Regions from separate parts of the Homo sapiens genome. Here region 2 is linked to region 1. Evidence: promoter capture Hi-C in 16 types of primary human blood cells and fetal thymus (Javierre and others, 2016). All regions are on one chromosome and are shown on one strand. The core of a region is centred on a gene start or on the middle of the fragment in contact, and the rest is flanking DNA. Distances in the headings are between cores, read along the strand shown.

The links. The method cuts DNA at HindIII sites, captures the fragments that hold promoters and counts their contacts. A CHiCAGO score of 5 or more calls a contact.
Region 2: a contact is called between a fragment that was not itself captured here and the fragment with the promoter of SMCHD1 in region 1, in 2 of 17 cell types (naive CD8 T cells and M0 macrophages). The highest score is 7.8, in naive CD8 T cells.

Annotation. Positions count from the first base shown.
Region 1 is chr18:2,653,262-2,658,621 of GRCh38, forward strand. It overlaps SMCHD1 (structural maintenance of chromosomes flexible hinge domain containing 1), which reads left to right and starts at 2,465. Exons shown (of 48, transcript NM_015295.3): 1 at 2,465-3,000. The coding sequence starts at 2,815. It also overlaps the pseudogene CBX3P2. RefSeq lists an enhancer at 644-1,273 and silencers at 2,308-2,757, 2,988-3,167. The HindIII fragment of the contact is 3,448 bases long and covers 2,090-5,360 here.
Region 2 is chr18:710,521-715,880 of GRCh38, forward strand. ENOSF1 (enolase superfamily member 1) reads right to left here and starts at 2,110. Exons shown (of 16, transcript NM_017512.7): 1 at 1,984-2,110. The coding sequence starts at 2,067. RefSeq lists silencers at 2,035-2,354, 5,109-5,360 and an enhancer at 2,306-2,885. The HindIII fragment of the contact is 4,938 bases long and covers 298-5,235 here.

The sequences.
Region 1 (5,360 bases), core at 1,215-3,714:
ACAGTGGCCCTCAGTATCCTCGGGTTCCGCATTCCTGGATTCTATCAACCGAGGATAGAACATATTTTAAAATCACAATAAAACAAAAAAATACAAATGAAAAACAATACAGTATAACAACCATTTACATAGCATTTATATTGCATTAGGTATTATAAGTAATCTAGGATGTATGTAGGTTATATGCAAATACTTCGCTCTTTTATATGAGGGACTTGAGCAGCCTTGGATTTTCCTATCCATGGGGGTCCCGGTCCAGAAACCAATTTCCCAAGGATACCAAAGGACGACTGTAGTTTTACTGGAGGCCATTTTTAATTGCAGACATGAAGAGCTATTGTTCACCATCTCGTTCACCATCTCTGAGCTGCACCTGGTCTGGGTCTGTGGCATCTCAAATCCTGCCTGACTCAAACTTGAGCTACATGCAAGGAAGAAGGGAATGGGGAACTTCTTCAGGGGCCACTAAGTTTTGGGGAAGTTCGTTATGTAGCAATAAATAACTGATACAAGGCCACTTAAATATTTTACTCTGTAGTAAGATAGCTAATTAACAAAAACTAAGAGTCAATTGAAGAGAACTCATTAAGGAAGTGGGTCATTTCAAACGCTTTTATTTACTTGTGATGACAATTAAATAAAGAACAAACTCGTCATCTTTCTTTGATGAAAAAATTGTTTGATATTCTGAGAACAAAAGTGATGCCATACTGCCATTAAGAAACTGATTCAGACTCGATCTCTCAACAAGGTAAGACATCAATGTTCCCATCAAGAGCTGCCCATAATACTGCAGTACACTTCTCTGGCACCATTAAAAAAAAAATCTCTTAGAGATGATCCTGAAATCTCTTCTAAAGACATGAAAGAGGTGTGCTTGTATAATCTGGTATTACAAAGAAATGAGAAATTGCCCTGATGACGAATCTCCAGCTCTAATCTCAATTTGCTGAAGTAGAGAGGCAATTCATCTTACCCATTAACTAAGAATTAGAAAAACAATTTGTGTTTTTCTTTGAGTCATTTAACTCAAATACCACTATATAAAGGAATAGAATGAGACATTCGCATGAATTTGAAAGGTAAATAAAACATCAGACTTCAAAGAAATTCCATTAGAATCGGGGGTTACTTTTTTGTTTTCTTTTCCTCCACCTCCACCTTAAGGAACATGAACGGCATTTGGCCACAGTTTATGTCTTTCCAATTTTATCTTCCACCATCTACCGCTCAGTTCTCCTCACTTCCAGCCAAACAATGTATGTTCCCCAAACACGCCTTCACAATTTCGTTCTAGTTGGTGTCTACCTCTAGTATATGTGTAGTCAATTTATACACACATTCCCCACGATCTTGAAACGTCTTGACATCCACAAGCAAATCTAGGTTTCTAACATAACACTAACTTTGTAAGTCTGTCCATATAAGGTTTTAGCAAACCTAGTAAAACAGAAAACGCACTATTATCCAGGCTTATATTCTGAGATTTGAAAAACCCCTCTATCTGCTACCTTTGGGTTTCTGAATTTACATACCACTCTCAAGTATACAGTATTCACGATTTCTAAGAACTGGAGAGTAAACCTAGTCCTCTAACAATGGCATTTTATTTGTTGAGTTAGGGCACTACCTGCCCACGATGAGGATAGTTAATGAAACGCTGCCCGGTAACGACGATTAAAGGCTTTGATTGAAAACGTATTAGGCCTTAAGAATTTTGCGAACATCTAATTTAACCCTAGTAACTGTGGCGTGGGTTCTTTCAGAATTTACACGCACGTGGGAGACCGCGAAGCGCAGGCAGCGTTAAAACTAGGGCGCTGGAGTCACCCCCGTACCCCGAATGCCGTCGGCGCTCCAGGGCCCCCAGAGGGTGCGGGGGGCGGGGACGCTGTGACGTCACAGAGCGCCCTTCTGACGTTCTCACGGACCCGCTTTGCCTCGGGGGCCCACGCTGGAGCCCACCCAGTACTACTAAGAAATGAGGAGGAAAAAGGGGCGCCGGCTCTCGTAGCGCCTATTTTCTCGGCAGAGGGACCCACGTGCTCGCTTTGGTGGACTCTGCGCCCGGCGAGTACCGCCGGCCTGAAGCTTCCCGCCGCCGCGTCCACGCGACCCAGCCAGAGAGGGCTCAGTCAGCCGGCGCGGCACCTACAAGCTCAGTCGGGATCCTGGAGAGGCGGGAAGGCAGCGGGGCCCTTTCCACAGAGAGAACACAGCTCTTCGGGAGATTCCCCCGCTGCCCCCGAGCCCTGCTCTCCCGCCTCGGCCTCTGAGGACTACCCGCAGGGCGCAGGCAGCCGCGAAAGACTCAGCCTCCTTCCAACTTCGCGAGGGCCGAGGGGGCGGGCCCCGGGCGCGCGCGCGGCGAAGCCCCGCCCCTGCCCGCGCGGCCTGCTGGATTCGCCCCGCCCCTCGCTGTCGCCCGCCGCCCGCCACCCGCCACCGCTCTTCCTCCTGCGCCACAGTCCCGGCGGCGGCGCTGGTCGCGGGTCGCACCGTGAGGCTCGCGTGGGCGGCGATAGGCGCTGGGCCCGGGCCCGGTGAGGAGCGCGCCGCGCGTCCCCTTCTCCTCAGGAGTGGCGGGCCGCGGAAGTGACGTGGTGCACGGGCAGGAGCGCGTTTGAATCGGTTCCCGGGTGATCCTCGCGCCTGCCGCTGCTCGGCCGCCGCCGCTGACGAGGAGCTGCAGCGCGCCGGGCCGAGGCCTCGAGCCGCCCCGGGAGCTGGAGCTGAAGGCGCCGCGCGGAGCGCGCACCTCAGCCCTGAGCCCGGCGGCGGCAGGCGTCGCTGTCTTTTCTCCTTTTCCCCAATATGGCAGCGGCGGACGGCGGCGGGCCTGGTGGGGCCTCTGTGGGGACTGAGGAGGATGGCGGAGGCGTCGGCCACAGGACGGTGTACTTGTTTGATCGGCGCGAAAAGGAGTCCGAGCTCGGGGACCGGCCTCTGCAGGTCGGGGAGCGCTCGGACTACGCGGGATTTCGCGCGTGTGTGTGTCAGGTACGCGAAGGGGCGAGGAAGGGATGCGCGTGTAGACTTGGGGGCGGGAGGGTGATGAGAAACTCAACTTGCTCACTGAGGGCAATAAACCTGTCACCCGGTCCCGGTCCTGCGGCCTTGGCTTCCCTCTCCCGTGTGCCCGCCATGTCCGTGACCTGGTGGCCGGACGCCTCGGGCGGGCCCTGGCCCGGGCCTCGAAGTGCAGGGCCGGCTCCCCCGTGGCCCTCCCTCTGCCTCCGCTCCTTTTACGGGAGGCCTTGCCGGCCCGGGTGGAGAGCTCAGCGTTTGTTGGCCCTGGGCGAGCTTAGCCCGGTTGCGGCCCTGCAGTCTAGGGAAAGCCGTTGGTGGTGTCTGTTTTTACTTTGTAACTTTTTTAAAACGAGAGAAGGGAGTTAACGCCCAGGGGCTCTGTTGTGAGTGTTGCGACGGTGGGAAGTTGTGAAATGCCCGGAGTCATCTCCCCCAAGTTCATTAGATGATGCGGGGTGTCCCCGGGTTGCCCTGTCGAGGTTGCAGGTCCTTCTGGGGCGGGGCGGCGGGGGGGATCCTTCCGCACGGAGACACTTGTCCAGGTCAGCTCTGCAGGTAGAGCTGGCCTTCTGCCTGTCTGAGCCCTAACCCTTGGGAATTTCCAAACCAAGTCAAAGGTTGGTATGGGTGGCTGTGGAGCACCAGAAAACGTACCTACCCCGTGTATTGGTTCGCTTTGAAAATGAACGTGGAGGGAAATCCGCTTTAAACTGTGATGTACTTTATAGATATGAGGTGGTGGCATTGCCTGAGCTTTGAAGAAGGAATATTGTCATGCTCTGAATTAACCATATGAGGTCCCTTTTTAAGCTGTTAAGAACACTTAGCGTCCAAGGGAAAAAAAGAACTTTGAAGCCGTGTTTTGTCGTGAGGCTGATAGGTTTAGAAATGTTCTAGACCATATAACTGTATGGTTGCTGAAATAATTGAAATCGTGATCCGTAGAATGAAAACGATTGGAGAAGTAAGGACTTTCTTTTGTTCACAGCTGTAGTCCCAGCGTCTAGAACTGTGCCTGCGACATTGTAAATGCCCAGATTAGAATGGATAAATGAATGAAGACAAAAACCTATCCCCTCAAGTTAATTCTGTGCCTGAACGTAGTAGATTCCCGTTGTGTTTGAAAAGTGAATGAATGCTCATCTTTTTTGTTGAATGCTTTCTATTCAGAACCATTCTACAAAAGGGAAACTTTTTACGTTTATTGTGTTTATAGTAAAAATATCAGTACATTAAAGAAAATATGGAACCAGAGGGGGGAAACAAGTAAATCTTTTACTCGCTGTAAAACTACTATATGACTACTCTTAGCACCTGAGGTTATGTCTTTTCAGCCTTCCTCCTCCTTCCCACTCCATTTTTTAAATTACTAAAATATGTGTTTTATATTCTATTAATTTTTTCACTTAATAGTGTCAGAAGTTTCTTTAAACGTAGGTCTTCAAATCAAAATTTGAAATGGTCCATTTGCTACCACTATTTACATAACCGAATCTCTCCTTTCTGTTGACATTTACATTACTTTTAATTTTTTTGATTTTAAGTAATGCTGTAATAAACATTTTCCCAGGCCCAAATATTCCCGGGCTCAGGTGATCCTCCCACCTCAGCCTCCCAAGTAGCCAGGACTACAGGTGAGCGCCACCATGCCCAGCTATGTTTTTTTTTTTTCGTATTTTTCGTACATACGGGGGTTTGGCTGTGTTGCCCAGGCTAGTCTCGAGCTCCTGGGCTCAAGAGATCCACCCGCCTCCCAAAGTGCTGGGATTACTGGCGTGAGCCACTGCACCCAGTGGAAAAACATCTTTGAATACATAGCCGTTTATGTCTTTTATTATTGTTTGCTTAGTTTGAAATCTTAGAACTGGATCAAAGATGAGATACATCTTTAAAGCTCTTGTTTCGTATTTTAAAATTGCTTTTTGAAAATGTTTTGCTACTTTACCCTTCCTCTAGAAATGCACTATTTCCCTCTCGTGAGATGTCTCAGTAACTCTTAGATAAATAGAGGAAGTATTATTGGCCTTTTATTACAGAAGTATAAACACAGTCGTGGAAATGGTGACTCATTACTCAGATAGTAAAGCTCAAGTTAGTATTCAAACCCAGAACCTCTGTTCATTCTGTTATACTACTCAAATGGCATTCTTTGCTGTAGGGAACAGATGTATTTATTCCTTCCTTCAATATTTCAACTGGAAAACCAAGGAAAATATTTCTTTTAACTAATTCTGTTCCTCCTTCCTCCCACTTTATCCTGCTAGAAAACGTTTTAAATTTAGTTAGAAATGAGAGGGACCAACTAGTAAGAAAAAAGAAGGCTGAGAAGG
Region 2 (5,360 bases), core at 1,517-4,016, 1.9 Mb before region 1:
CTTTAGAAACAGGGTCTCACTGTGTCATCCAGTGCCCAGGCTGGAATGCAGTGGCATGATCATAGCTCATGTAATTGAATTCCTGGGCTCAAGTGATCCCCCTGCCTAGGCCTCCACTTAGGATTAGAGGTGTGAGCCCTCATGCCTGGCCTATAGCCAACTTTACTGACGGCCTTCTCTGAGCCAGGCTCTTTACAGGTATCTCATTTACATGTATAAAGTGAATATTATTATACCCATTTTACAGATGAGAAACCTAGGCTTAGAAAGATTGTGTGACTTAGCCACAGCTGCTAAAGCTTCACAGAGGCAAAGGCAGTTGCATGAGATCGAGTGTTTGGATTCTATAAGCCAGTAAAATTTCCAACATTTATTTTGAGTTCCATAAAGGATTGCCTGCTGGGTGTTTAAGTTATTTACCAACATCATGTAAGAAAGGAAACATGAAGATTTTAAAGAGGATGACAGCCTGGGCCCTGTCTCTACAAAAAATACAGAAAGTAGCTGGGCATCATGGTGCACACCTGTAGTCCCAGCTACTTGGGAGGCTGAGGTGGGAGGATTGGTTGAGTCAGGGAGGTCAAGGCTGCTGTGAGCCATGATAGTACCACTGCACTCCAGCTTGGGCAACAGATAAGAGACCCTGCCTCAAAATAAATAAATAAATAAATTTAAAACATAAAATAGAATAAAATAAAAATTTAAAAATGCAGGATGAACTTAATCTCAAAAAGGACATTGTTTTGCATTTAATAACTTTAACGAGAGATCTATTTTTATAAAACATTTCAGGTACAAAAAGAGTATAGATAATGTAATGGACACCAGCTTGCCATCCACCCAATTTAGGAAGTAAAACATTACAATGGGAATTAGAGACCTCGTGGTCCCCTCCGTGACCCCATTTCCTTCCCTCCCTACTGGTAACCATTTTCCTAACATTGCCGTTCCTCACTTCCCAGCATACTTTCACACATTCACTACATACCCATACAACTCTGCTTTTCTAGCGCGGCCAATCTCATCAGTGGACTACGAGGGGCAGTGAGGACCCAGTGGGGAACAGGCTCCCTGAAAACCCTGCACAGAACCCACTGTATTTGGGAAACACCGCTCTAGACGGGGGCAGGGGAGGGAAGGCCTGACATTCTAACACCCTCAGTAAGCAAAAAAGACCTTCAATATTTAGGTAGGAGTCAGAGTTCCTGCCCTTACTTTATTACATCTCTTAAGACGAACTGACATTTGCATCAGTCCTTTCTAAGCGTGTTTGCGGGTAATTTCACGAGAGCGCCCTCTCATGTGACGCAGTTAGCACGCGCTTGGTTTCTCAACCCGACTGTGACACCTTCATTACACAGACGGGTCCAAGAGACCCAGAGAGGTCTGGAACTTCTCCAAGTCACACAGCAAGTTGTGGAAGCGGGATCACCACTCAAAACTCCCAGCCCCGGGCTTCCCGTTCTCCCTCAGCGCCAACCCCGTCGCGTTCAGGGTACAGAGGAAGCCAGCGAGCGCTGTGCTCTAGGGTTTCCACTGGCGGGAACCCAACAAAATCATTTTGCTGCTATTGCCTATTATGCATTCTACCATTTCCAGCAAAATGTGAGTCGTAAAAGTAAAACCAGGATATTCTAAACTCCAGCAAAGAAAAAACCCAGGAGAGTGGAAAGTTTCTGGATACTTATACAATTGCTCCAAGGCATGAAAAGCGAGTGTCTCCCCCAGGCGCGCCTCCCACTTTACAGAAGCAATGGGTTCGAAGTCGGGAAGCTGCCCGGGGCCCGCAGAGCTGCAGTCGGCGGGGCGGGAGGGACCCGGGCCGCAAGCCGCGCGTACCATGGCGTCCGCGCTTACCATGGCGTCCGCGCTTACCATGGCGTCCGCGCTTACCATGGCGTCCGCGCTTACCATGGCGTCCGCGCTTACCATGGCGTCCGCGCTTACCATGGCGTCCGCGCTTACCATGGCGTCCGCGCTTACCATGGCGTCCGCGCCGTGGCCCCCAAGCGACGTGGGGAAGCGCACGTCCCGGACCGAGAGCCGGGAGATCCTGCCGCGCACCATGGCCCCTGCGCCCCGTGGCCGCGGCCCCCGTGCGGTCAGGACTGGTCGGGATCCCGAGCGCGCGGCGGGAGGGCGGGAGGGCGGGAGCGCGGCAGCGCCGCGAGGCGGGGCACCGTCAGGGCATAGAGGGCGCTCATTGGCCGCGCGGCCGCACCCCGTGAACTTGGCCCCATGGGAGCTGCAGTCCCAGCTCCGGGCTCCCGGGGGCGCACTCCGCCTTCCGCCGTTCCCTTCTCAGCCTAGACGGAGCTGACCCCGAGAGGGTTCGCTCAGGGTCGCCGGGGAACCTGGGCAGGCAGGAGGCCTCGCGCCCGGTCGGCGCCTCCGCGGGACCCTGCTCTGCTCGGATGGAAGACTCGTGAAGGGACCTGCCCGGGAGCCGCGCCCTAGAGGGAGAAGTCGGGTCTGAGCGAGTGCATTCGCTCAGCGGCAGATTCCGGCCAGTGGCTCAGCTCCCAAGCCGAGGCCGCTGGTTGTCGCCAGCGTACCCAGGAGAGCGGTGCCCTAGAAAATGCTAGGTCTCTTTCAGTGCCCACAGCCTCAGTTTGCCACCTGATAAATTAAGAGGCAGGTCATCATTGATTACACCCGTACTGATGCAGATGAGGTCCCCGTACCGTGCCTCAGCCTGTAATCCCAGCACTTCGGGAGGCCGAGGCGGGCGGATCACCTGAGGTCAGGCGTTTGAAATCAGCCTGGCCAATACGGCGAAATCCCGCCTCTACTAAAAACAAAAATTAGCAGGGCGTGGTGGTGCGCGCCCGTAGTCCCGGCTACTCGGGAGGCTGAGGCAGAACTGCCTGAACCCGGGAGGTGGAGCTTGCAGTGAACTGAGATCGCGCCACTGCACTGCAGCCCGGGCGACAGAGCAAGACTCCGACTCAAAAAAAAAAAAAAAAAAAAAAAGATGCTGGGCGGCTCACGCCTGTAATCCCAGCAGTTTGGGAGGCCAAGGCGGGCAGATGGCGAGTCAGGAGATCGAGACCATCCTGGCTAACACGGTGAAACCCCGTCTCTACTAAAAATACAAAAAATTAGCCGGGCGTGGTGGCGGGCGCCTGCAGTCCCAGCTACTCGGGAGGCTGAGGCAGGAGAATCGCTTCAACCCAGGAGGCGGAGGTTGCAGTGAGCCGAGATCGCACCACTGCACTCCAGCCTGGGCGACAGAGTGAGACTGTGTCTCAAAAATAAATAAATAAAAAGAAATAAAAAGAAAATCCAAAGTAAGCAGAAGAGAAGAAATAATAAAAATTAAAGCAGAAACCTGTGAAATTGAAAACAGGAAAGCAACAAAGAAAAATCAATGAAAACAAAAGCTGGTTCTTTGAAAACATTGATAAAATCAATAAGCCTCTAACCAGGCAAGAAAAGAGAACGCAAATAACTAATATCAAAAGTGAAATAAGGAACATTACTACAGATCCGACGGACATTAAAATGATAATAAAGGAATACTATGAATTCTATGTCCACAAATTTGATAACCTGGATGAAATAAACCAATTCCTTGAAAGACACAATCTGCCAAAACTCACACGAGAAGAAATGGACAATCTGAATAGGCCTATATCTATTAAATAACTTGAATAAATAATAGCCTTCCAAAAACAAAAAGCACCAGGTCCATGGTTTCACTGGTGAATTTTACACCAAACATTTAAGGAAGAAATTACAACAATTCTCTATAATCTATTTCAGAAGATAGAAACAGCCACAAACTGACTTTATGGTGAATGATTGATGCTTTCTCCTTAAGATTTGGAACAAGGAAAGGATGTCTGCTTCCACCACTTCTATTCAACATAGTACTGCAGGTTCTAGTTAGGGTAATATAATAAGAAAAGAAATAAAAGGCAGATTGAAAAGGAAGTAAACCTGTTTATTCTTGGATGACATGATTATTCATCTTTGTTGAAAACTGTCTTCATTGGACTTAACGAAAAAAGCTACTGGAACTAATATTGAGCTTAGCAAGTTTGTAGGATACAAGGTCAATTTAAAATCTATAGTTGATGTGCTAGTAATAAAAAATTGGAAACAAATTAGAAAACAGTATCTCTTAAAACAATTGCATTGAAGATATAAAACAGGACAAGTTTAACAAAAATATGCAAGATTTGCACACTGAACTATAAAACATTGCTGAGAAAAAAAGATCTAAAGAAATGTAGAAATGTAGAGAAATTCATATTCTTGGATTGGAAGACTCAATATTGTTAAAATAGCAGTTCTTCCCAAATCGAACTACAAATTCAATGCAATCTAATCTAAATCACTAGCAGGATTTTTTTGAAGAAATTGACAAGTTGATTCTAAAATTTATATGGAAATTTGAATAGCCAAAATAATCCTAAAAAAGAACAAGGCTGAAGAACTTAAACTACTTGGTTTTAAGACTTGCTATACACTAATCGAGTCAATGTGAAATTGACATAAAGACAGACAAGTAGATCAATGGAACAGAAGAGGTCTTGAAATAGTAAAAATACAAAAAATTAGCCAGGCGTGGTAGCACGCGCCTGTAGTCCCAGCTACTCGGGAGGCTGAGGCAGGAGAATCATTTGAACCCGGGAGGCGGAGGTTGCGGTGAGCTGAGATCGCGCCACTGCCCTCCAGGCTGGGCGACAAAGCGAGACTCCGTCTACAAAATAAAAACAACAAAAAAAAACAGGGGCCAAGAAAATTCAACGAGTAAGCTAATCTTTCCAACAACTGGTGCTCGAACAATTGAATATCCATAAGAACAAACAGAACAATCCTGGATCATTACCTTATATCATACACAAAAATCATCTCGAAGTGGAATATAGATCTAAATTTTAAGAGCTAGAATTACAAAACTTCTAAAGAAAACACAGGAGAAAATCTTTTTGTACTTGGATAAAGCAAACTTTCTTAGGACACTAAAAGCATGAATCATAAAAGAAAAACATTGCCAATTAAATTATCAACATTAAAAATGTTTTCTCTTTTATGAAAACCATTAAAGAAATGAAAATGCAAGCTGCAGATTGGAAGAAAAATATTTGCAAAACATATCTGTTAAAAGGACTTGTATGCAGAATACTGAAAAAATTACAACTCAGTAAGATGGCAACTTGATATAAAAAATGGGCAAAAGACTTTTTAATAGACATTCCACCTAAGCAGACATATGAATTTGAAATAAGCTTATGAAAAGACTCAACATTATTAGTCATTAGGGAAATGCACACTAAAACCACAATGATGTACTACTAACACGCACCAGGATGGCTGCAATTAAAGTGACTGGCAATACCAAGTATTGGCAA